Linked DNA regions of Homo sapiens: region 2 is linked to region 1. Evidence: promoter capture Hi-C in 16 types of primary human blood cells and fetal thymus (Javierre and others, 2016). All regions are on one chromosome and are shown on one strand. Each heading gives the region's core, a stretch centred on a gene start or on the middle of the fragment in contact. The rest is flanking DNA. Distances are from core to core; before and after follow the strand shown.

Region 1 (3,840 bases), core at 872-3,371:
ATGGGGAAAAAGGAGGAGAGAGAAGGCCAGGGGTGTGGGTGGAAGAGAGCACTTACGCTTACCTGGGTCAGCCAGACATTGGTGGTCATGATCTGCTCCCGCTCATGCTGCAGGGAGGAAGAGAGGCTGCCGAGAAGGCCCCTAAGCCTGTGGGGTCACTGCCACCACCCAGGGTCCCTCTCACACCTCCCCAAGCCTTGGAAACACCAGGGGAGGAAGCACACAAGCATTAACACATTTTGGCGGGGCTGATTTCAGTAGCTGGGCAGAGAGCCTGGGACCTCTACTCACCACACTGATGAGCTGGGCCAGTGACACCATAAGCTGTACTGTCACCAGCTCAGAGCCATTGGTGGCTGGGCGGATAAGCTTGTTGTAGCGGGAAGGATCCAGGAGATGCTCCACCAGCCGCTCCTCTGTATCCGTACCCCACACCCCTGGGCAGGGGAAAGGCAGGACGAAAGTAAGCAGGCAAGGAGAGCCCACCCAGCATCCCACCCTCCCCAGGCAAATGGGACAATCCAGGCCCAACCAGTATCTCCCTACATCCCTAAGGATACTGCAAAATGCTTAGATTAACCCCAGGGAGGCCCCAGATTAATGTCTTCATAGAAAAGCCCCTCTCTGAGACCACTGACCAAAGAGTCTACACAGCTCCACAGAGATGACTTGAGACTAAGAACCCACTCTGCAAGGATTCATGGAGACCTGCTCTTCCCCCAAAGTCTCAGAGGGCAGTTTGAGATTTCTGCTTCCATGGCTTCCCCAGCAAATACCTATGACTCAAGGGAGGTTTAGCAGGGCAGTGAAGGTGAACAGTTATTTGTCCCAGTTATTTGTGTCCCACCACACACATCCTTTCTCCTGCCGATTGAGGAGAAAGTGTATGTGTGGTGGGACACAAATAACTGTTCCCGTTCACCATTTACATGTGCAAATGACATTATGTGCCTCACGTAATGACATGTGACTGTGGTCACGATGCCATCCTCCCCTCTCCCTAAAGGCACTGGGTTGGAGTGGAATAGCTGGGCTGCCTAAGCTGTGGGTCAGGCATATATGTAGCCCCAAGTTTCACACACACAGCAGCCCACCCCTAGAGGTGGCCTGTAGGTGTGGAAAGCTCATTCAGTTGTGCATTCCCTTTGTACCTGCCCCTCCCCGGCACACTGCATCCCCCTCTGCAACTCTGCACGAACACACCCCTCCCCATCCCCTCAGAGAGTTCCTTCCTAGTCCTCAGCCTGGCAGAGCTTCTTCCCTTCCAAGCCTCCTGTCCCACCCTACAGGAGGGTTGAAAAGTCCGTTCCGTTTTCTCCCCTTCTCTGCCCCTGAGGGGTGACGAGAATCTGGAGCCCAATGTGGGGGATGGGAAACGATGGGGAGCCCGGGGAGGGGTGCTGGTCCAGGTACCTTTCTTGAGATAATGTTTCACAAAAAGTCAGATGGCATCTTAGCGCCCTCAGAGCCGGCCTCCTGCCACCCCAGGACGCCTGGGGAGATCCCCTGCCTCCTTGCTCTCTGTGCCTGCACCACCCCTACCACCGCTGGCCAGGTTTCCATCTCTTTCTTGCTTCACTTACTCCTTCGAGTATGTCTCGTTCCCAGTCCAGCCTCCCAGGTGCTCTCTGCAGTCCCGGGGGGCTCTCCCCTAACCTCCAGCAGACTCCCCCACCTCTAGGGAATCCCTTCTTCCACCTTCCGGCCTAGCAGGGGTGAGTCAGAGGGCGGCGAGTCTTGGGCCGTTGGCTGGGGTAGGAGAACCTGGCCAGTGCCCGTCTTTCCCTTACCTGAGCACAGCCGGAGGAGGCCGAAGCCAAGGAGCAGCGCCACGGGGCCGCAGCGCCGGGCCATGCCGCGGGCATAGCTCGCTGCCTCGCCTACACCGGCTGGAGCGCGCCGCCGGGGGGAGGGCCGCGGGTGGGGCGCTGTCCGTGGTGCTGAAGCCGCGCCCGCCTGGAGCTGGGTCCAGGTGGTGCCGGCCGCCGCGGTGGTTCCTGGGCCTCAGGGAGCCGGCTGCGAGGAGAAACCAGCTTCTTGCCTATCCTGGTATGAGCAGGCGGAGGCTTTTCCGGCTGCTCTTCCAGGGAATACAATTGGGACGGTGAGGGGGAGGAGTCTGCGCCCCGGAGGCGGAAACGCTGGGTCCCAGGAAAAAAAAGGGGGGTCCCCGGCTGGGATAGTCTTCGATTGGTTCTGCCGTGGTAGGGTGTGCGTGAGGTGGAAGAAGGGCTGTTCCTCCACGGCACGGTGGAGGAGTTCTGAAGTCCTAAAGTTGGGGCAGGACCTGCAGCATGGTCGGAGAAGGGGCAAGAGGCCCGGCGGGAAGAAGCAGCAAGAGTAAGACAAGTAGGTCAGGGCCTGCTTAGTACTGAGGGCCAGACGGCCAGAACGAGCGTCGGGAGACAGGAGGAGTGTCCGGGGTTTTCGCCCTCCTTTTTTCTCTTACCAAACCCAAATGGTCCTGCTCCCCAGGTAGGCTGAGGATACAGCAGAGAAAATGTGTTTAGCCCCTTAAAGAGATAGGGGGCTGTGGGTTTGCTATTTTTAAGAAAGCAAACGGCTTTGGAGTCTAAAAGGCTAAGCTTCCTGCCCTCCCACTGAGGGTCTACCTGAGGAGGTCTAGACTTGCCTGCAAAGAAGGTAGACTTGAGGGTAATAGTGGAAAGACAAGTAGCCCCTATTCATCGGCCTTCCTCACCCCCTTCTCTTGACTCCAGCTGTTGGCTTCTGTGTGACTAGGGAGATCAGAGACCACTCACAGAGGCCTGATCAAGAGAGAAGCTAACACAAAGGAGACCAAAGATGAGAACCCTGAACTCTTAGCCCCTTTTTTTCCTTCAGTGGGTTCGTTGTCACTTTCAACCAAAAGATTCCTGACTAAAGCAGACTTAGCATACAGCAAGGCTCTGTCCTGTTTTGTCCCTGCTTACTTCAACCTCATCTGGGTCACTCCACCCCCAGCTCCACATTCCAACTATTGGCAAGGTCTTCAGGATCCTTGAACATCTTATCCGTCCCATCATCCCCCACACTTCAGGGACTTAAATGCATGGTTCTCTTGGGCTCTTTTATAACCCATGTTCCCCTCATCACCTTCTACTTAACTTTGAGCATTTGGCAGGAATGTCAATTCCTTAAGGAAGCTGCGCCTGACCAAGAACTAGATCAGATACTTTGTTATATGTTTCCAGAGCATGTCCAATGAATAAATGAATCCACCTGAGGCAGTGGCTGCCTCTCTAGATTATGAATCAACACAGTGCCTGGCATATTATTATAAGGGCTCAACAGGTAAGGAAAAGGGCTAGTACTGGACTGACACTTTTTAATGTGTAGGGAAAATTTCTCTCTAAAAGCTCAGCTAGGGACCAGGAGAGGTGACTTAAGCCCGTAATCTCAGCACTTTCAAAGGCTGAGGCAGAAGGATCACTTGAGCCCAGGCGTTTGAAACCAGCCTGGGCAACATAATGAGATCACGTGTGTACAAAAAGTTTAAAAATTAGTCGGGCATGATGGTGTGTGCCTATAGTCCCAGCTACTCGAGAGGCTGAGGTGGGAGGATCACTTAAGCCAGGGAGGTCGGGGCTGCAGTTTGGGGCATGATGGCGCAACTGCACTCCAGCCTGGGCAATGAAGCAAGACCCCATTTCAAAAACTAAACAAATAAATAAATAAAAGCCCAGCTAAAAGCAACTTATTGACCATGTCCCCAGGTCGTGGAATTAAGGGAAGAAGCAGAAAAGTTCTAGAAGAGGACTGGAGAAGTAGAAGGACTACAGACCCCATGATGCACATGGAAATGGGCGTAAATCTGCACGACTTGTTCCGGGGCATGCG
Region 2 (3,705 bases), core at 1-2,500, 490 kb before region 1:
CTCCTACCTGGAGGGTACCACTAGGGGCGGGATTCCAGCCCCTGGGCCGGGCAGGTCACCCGATGGGCACCGGCCCTGGGGGTCGGCAGGCAGTGGCTTCCTTGGGGGTGGGGGCTTGGCTGGCCCCTGAGACTGAGGGAGAGAAGGCAGGAGGCCGGCTTAGGTGGGGGGGTGTCATGTTGCCCACCCCCAACGCACTGGTGCTGGGGAACACCAGCTTGGGGGCAGCACCAGCGGTCACCCTTGTCTGCAAACAAACCTGTCACCATTAAAGGCACCACCGGGATATGTGCCCTCATGCACTGAGGGGGCATCTCGCCACGGCCACCACCGTCATGGCTACCAGCACCACAGCCCTAGGTGGGGGGAGAGGCCGTGCCCTTCTCTCCCCCCACCGTTACCTTCGGGCTTCTCACCACCGGGTCAGCGGGCAGAGGGCGGGTAGGGGGATTGGGTCGGTCAGCCAGCTCAGCCTGAACAGAGAGAGGGGCAGTGGCTGTGAGAGCATAACCAGGGGCTGTGGACATGCACAGAGATTCCCCAGAGGGGTTCAAGTCAACATGCAAAGTCAGCCAGGGGGCAGGAGAGAATGAGGGCATGCGCAGAGGGCTTGGAGGCATGCCAGCTGATGTCTCAGGGGAGGAAGGTGTAGGTCAACCGCAGTCCCTGGCCGACTGCAGTCCCGCCATTGACCACCAGATGGTGGTAGAAACCAAGGCAGGAGGCTCACCCTTTGCTGCTTCTGGGGCTCAGAGTGTCTGAAGGCTGAGGGGCACCCCGATCACCTAATGAAGAGCACCACTGGCAGGGAGCAGGGATGAGAACTGCAGTTGGGTACCAAGCCTCCCACCTGCCTTGGCTCAGGGCGGGCCCTGGCCCAGATTTACCTGGAGTCTCTTGGACACAGGGTCAGGCGGCAGCGGCCTGGAAGGGGGGGCCGGGAAGCTGAGAGCACTAGCCTGCTGAGAGGGCAGGAGGGGCAGATAGGCACAGAGGGGGAAGAGGAAGCAGAGAGACAGAGTGGGCAGGGAAGGGTCAGTGCCCAGGGGGGGCCAGCAGGGGCCCAGGGCAGTGGGTGCTGTGCATGCAGTTATGCAGGTGCATGCAGGTGGGGAGCGAGTGGGGAGGAGGTGTGCACACACTCCCATCATCCAAGCAGAGGGCTCAGGGTGGGGATGCTCACCAGCCCTTCTAACATGGTGACCTGGGCCTACGGAAGGCCATTCTGAGCACCACTGCCCTTGTGCCCTCCTGGGGTCACTGCTGGGGGCATGGATAGATCCACCTCTCAAAGCCACCTCTTGGCCAGCGGACGGAGCCCAGCAGCTCCTGCTCCAGCTGGCTGCCCTCCCCACTCTTCTGGACTCAGCTTCCCTGCCTGTAGCCAGGGGAGGGGAGGGCAGGGCTGGCCCTGACTCCTTCGACTGACTCTTGGGCAGTGCTAGCCTTTCTCTGAGTCTGGAGCCTTTAATGCGCACCCCCCAGGGCCCAAGCTGGATGCCCGGCCAAGGTGGAGTCCCCTTCCTCTGGCATCCAGGACTCACCTTAGTGCCTCGTGCCAGCAGGGCCCTCTGCGGAGGTCCTGGCCGTTCAGAGGGACCAGATTGGGCTGCCCTATGCATGAGGAAAGGCAAGAAGGGAGAGGGCCCAGCCTCAGACCCTGTTTTCTACCATATGCCATCCCTGAGTGGGGTTAACCCTTTGCAGGCACTTATGTGTGGTTTAGGTAAAATTGTGGTAGGGCCGGGGTGGGGGGCAGTATTTATTAGCTTGAGGGAAGACCCTACTTATCCAGCACAGGGGCTCCTGGGGAGAAATGGCCCTAGCAATCCAGCCACCCCACAGGGGCACAGCTGTGAGGTAAAAAGCTGTGGGCACATATAGGGAAGGGAGGTGTGGGGTATGGCAGTCAGCAACTTTAAGGTCCAAGGGGCCTGGGGCTCAGAACCAGGTGGCAGGGGCTGCAGAGGTGAGGCAGCCTTCAGCACTGTCCCCAGTTGAAGGAAGTGGTAGCAGGGAGGTGATGCTCATACCTGTACTGGCAGGTGGGTCCCTTGAGCTGGCAGAGTCGCTGGTGCAGGCGGGCACGGTACCAGTAGCTGGCACCAAGCATCACCAGGACCAATAAGACCAGGAGGCTGAGGAGCAGCCCTGTGGTCAGGGAGCTGGTTGCTGTGGGCGGAAGTCAGGTTTAAGGGAGGACGGGGCTAAGAACTCTAGATCCATGAAGGCGCAGGGGGCAGGGAGTGAAGTCAAGTGATCAGGGAGAGTGAAGGGTTCAAGGGGCACAGACTCAGGGAACCAGCAGCAAAGGGGGGTCAGAAAGAGAGGGCCGAGGGGGCAAGATAAAGCATGAGACGCTTTGCCCTCCCAGCTGCCCCTGTCCCCCACCCCCATGCTACCTTTGAGCTGAGTGGTGCAGTCAGGGGGTGCCCAGCCCTCCTCACAGTAGCAGTGCCTGTTGCTGTCACAGACCTAGGAGGTACAAGGCGAGCAATGAGGAGCTCTGCACTCTGGAACTATTTCCTTGTCTCTAGCTTTTCAAGATCTCAGATTTCTACAACTGGGGGTTGTGCTGGGTATGTGTGTAGAGACAGCCCGGAGGGAGGGTCTTTATCCATACCAGAGCAAATTAGATCAAACTAACACTTACTGAGCTCCTTCTGTGTGCTGGGCACTGTGGTACATGCTTTCTTTCTTTGTGTTTGTTTTGTTTTGTTTTATTTTATTTTATTTTAGACAGCAAGTAAGATGGAGTCTCACTCTGTTGCCCAGGCTGGAGTGCAGTGGTGCAATTATGGCTCACTGCAGCCCCAAACTCCTGGGCTCAAGCAGTCCTCCTGCCTCAGCCTCCCAAGTAGCTGGGAGCATAGGTGTGCACCAGCAGGCCTGAATAATTTTTAAATTTTTCCTTGAAAGAGATGGGGGTCTCACTATGTTGACCAGGCTGGTTTTGAACTCCTGGCCTCAAGTAATCCTCCTGCCTTGGCCTCCCAAAGTACTGTGATTTGGCTGGGTGCAGTGGCTCACCCCTATAATCCCAGCACTTTGGGAGGCTGAGGCGGGAGGATCACTTGAGGTCAGAAGTTCAAGACTAGCCTGGCCAACATGGTGAAACCCATCTCTACTGAAAATACAAAAATTAGCTGGGCATGGTGGCGGGTGACTGTAATCCCAGCGAGTAGGGAGGCTGAGACATGAGTAATGTTTGAGCCTGGGAGGCAGAGGTTGCAGTGAGCCGAGATCACGCCAGCGCACTCCAGCCTAGGCAACAGAGCGAGACTCTGTCTCAAAACAAAACAAACAAACAAACAAAAAAACTGTGATTATAGGCATGAGCCATTGTGCCCAGCCTGTGCTAGATGCTTTCATACTCATCTCATGTACCCTGGATGGGGATACTATTATTATAGCCATTTGATAGGTGGGGAAACTGAGCTCAGCAAAGTTAGTAACCTGCCCGAGGTCACACAACTGGGAAGTAGTAGAGCAAGGATTAAAACCCAGATATGTCTATTTCCAAAGCCCAGTATCCTTTTCCTCTCTAGAGGCTCTCTGCTCCCCTTCCACTTCCCCCATCCCAGCTCACCCCATGTCCATGGCATTTGCTTCGACATTCCTGTGCCCCCAGGAGATCCACACGCTGGCATCGATGGTCTATACACACCTGACCCAGGGAGAGAAGAGCCTGGATCAGATTCCCAC

Evidence for each region. Contacts are between HindIII fragments. The CHiCAGO score rates a contact against its expected background, and 5 or more counts as called.
Region 2: a contact is called between a fragment that was not itself captured here and the fragment with the promoter of CHRNB2 in region 1, in 14 of 17 cell types (naive B cells, total B cells, fetal thymus and 11 more). The highest score is 15.7, in naive B cells.

Annotation. Positions count from the first base shown.
Region 1 is chr1:154,566,059-154,569,898 of GRCh38, reverse strand. It overlaps CHRNB2 (cholinergic receptor nicotinic beta 2 subunit), which reads right to left and starts at 2,121. Exons shown (of 6, transcript NM_000748.3): 1 at 1,791-2,121; 2 at 292-437; 3 at 63-107. The coding sequence starts at 1,854. LOC107985206 (a long non-coding RNA gene) reads left to right here and starts at 2,182. Exons shown (of 2, transcript XR_001738238.3): 1 at 2,182-2,475; 2 at 3,717-3,840. RefSeq lists a silencer at 1,821-1,950. The HindIII fragment of the contact is 2,216 bases long and covers 372-2,587 here.
Region 2 is chr1:155,058,672-155,062,376 of GRCh38, reverse strand. It overlaps ADAM15 (ADAM metallopeptidase domain 15), which reads right to left. Exons shown (of 23, transcript NM_207197.3): 16 at 3,590-3,667; 17 at 2,403-2,475; 18 at 2,034-2,172; 19 at 1,545-1,614; 20 at 888-962; 21 at 402-473; 22 at 8-132. All of the region lies in intron 1 of DCST1-AS1 (DCST1 antisense RNA 1), which reads left to right. It overlaps ADAM15-EFNA4 (ADAM15-EFNA4 readthrough), which reads right to left. Exons shown (of 26, transcript NR_176418.1): 16 at 3,590-3,667; 17 at 2,403-2,475; 18 at 2,034-2,172; 19 at 1,545-1,614; 20 at 8-132. Among named protein-coding and RNA genes, the nearest start is that of EFNA4, 3.2 kb to the left of the region's middle. The HindIII fragment of the contact is 4,923 bases long and covers 1-3,705 here.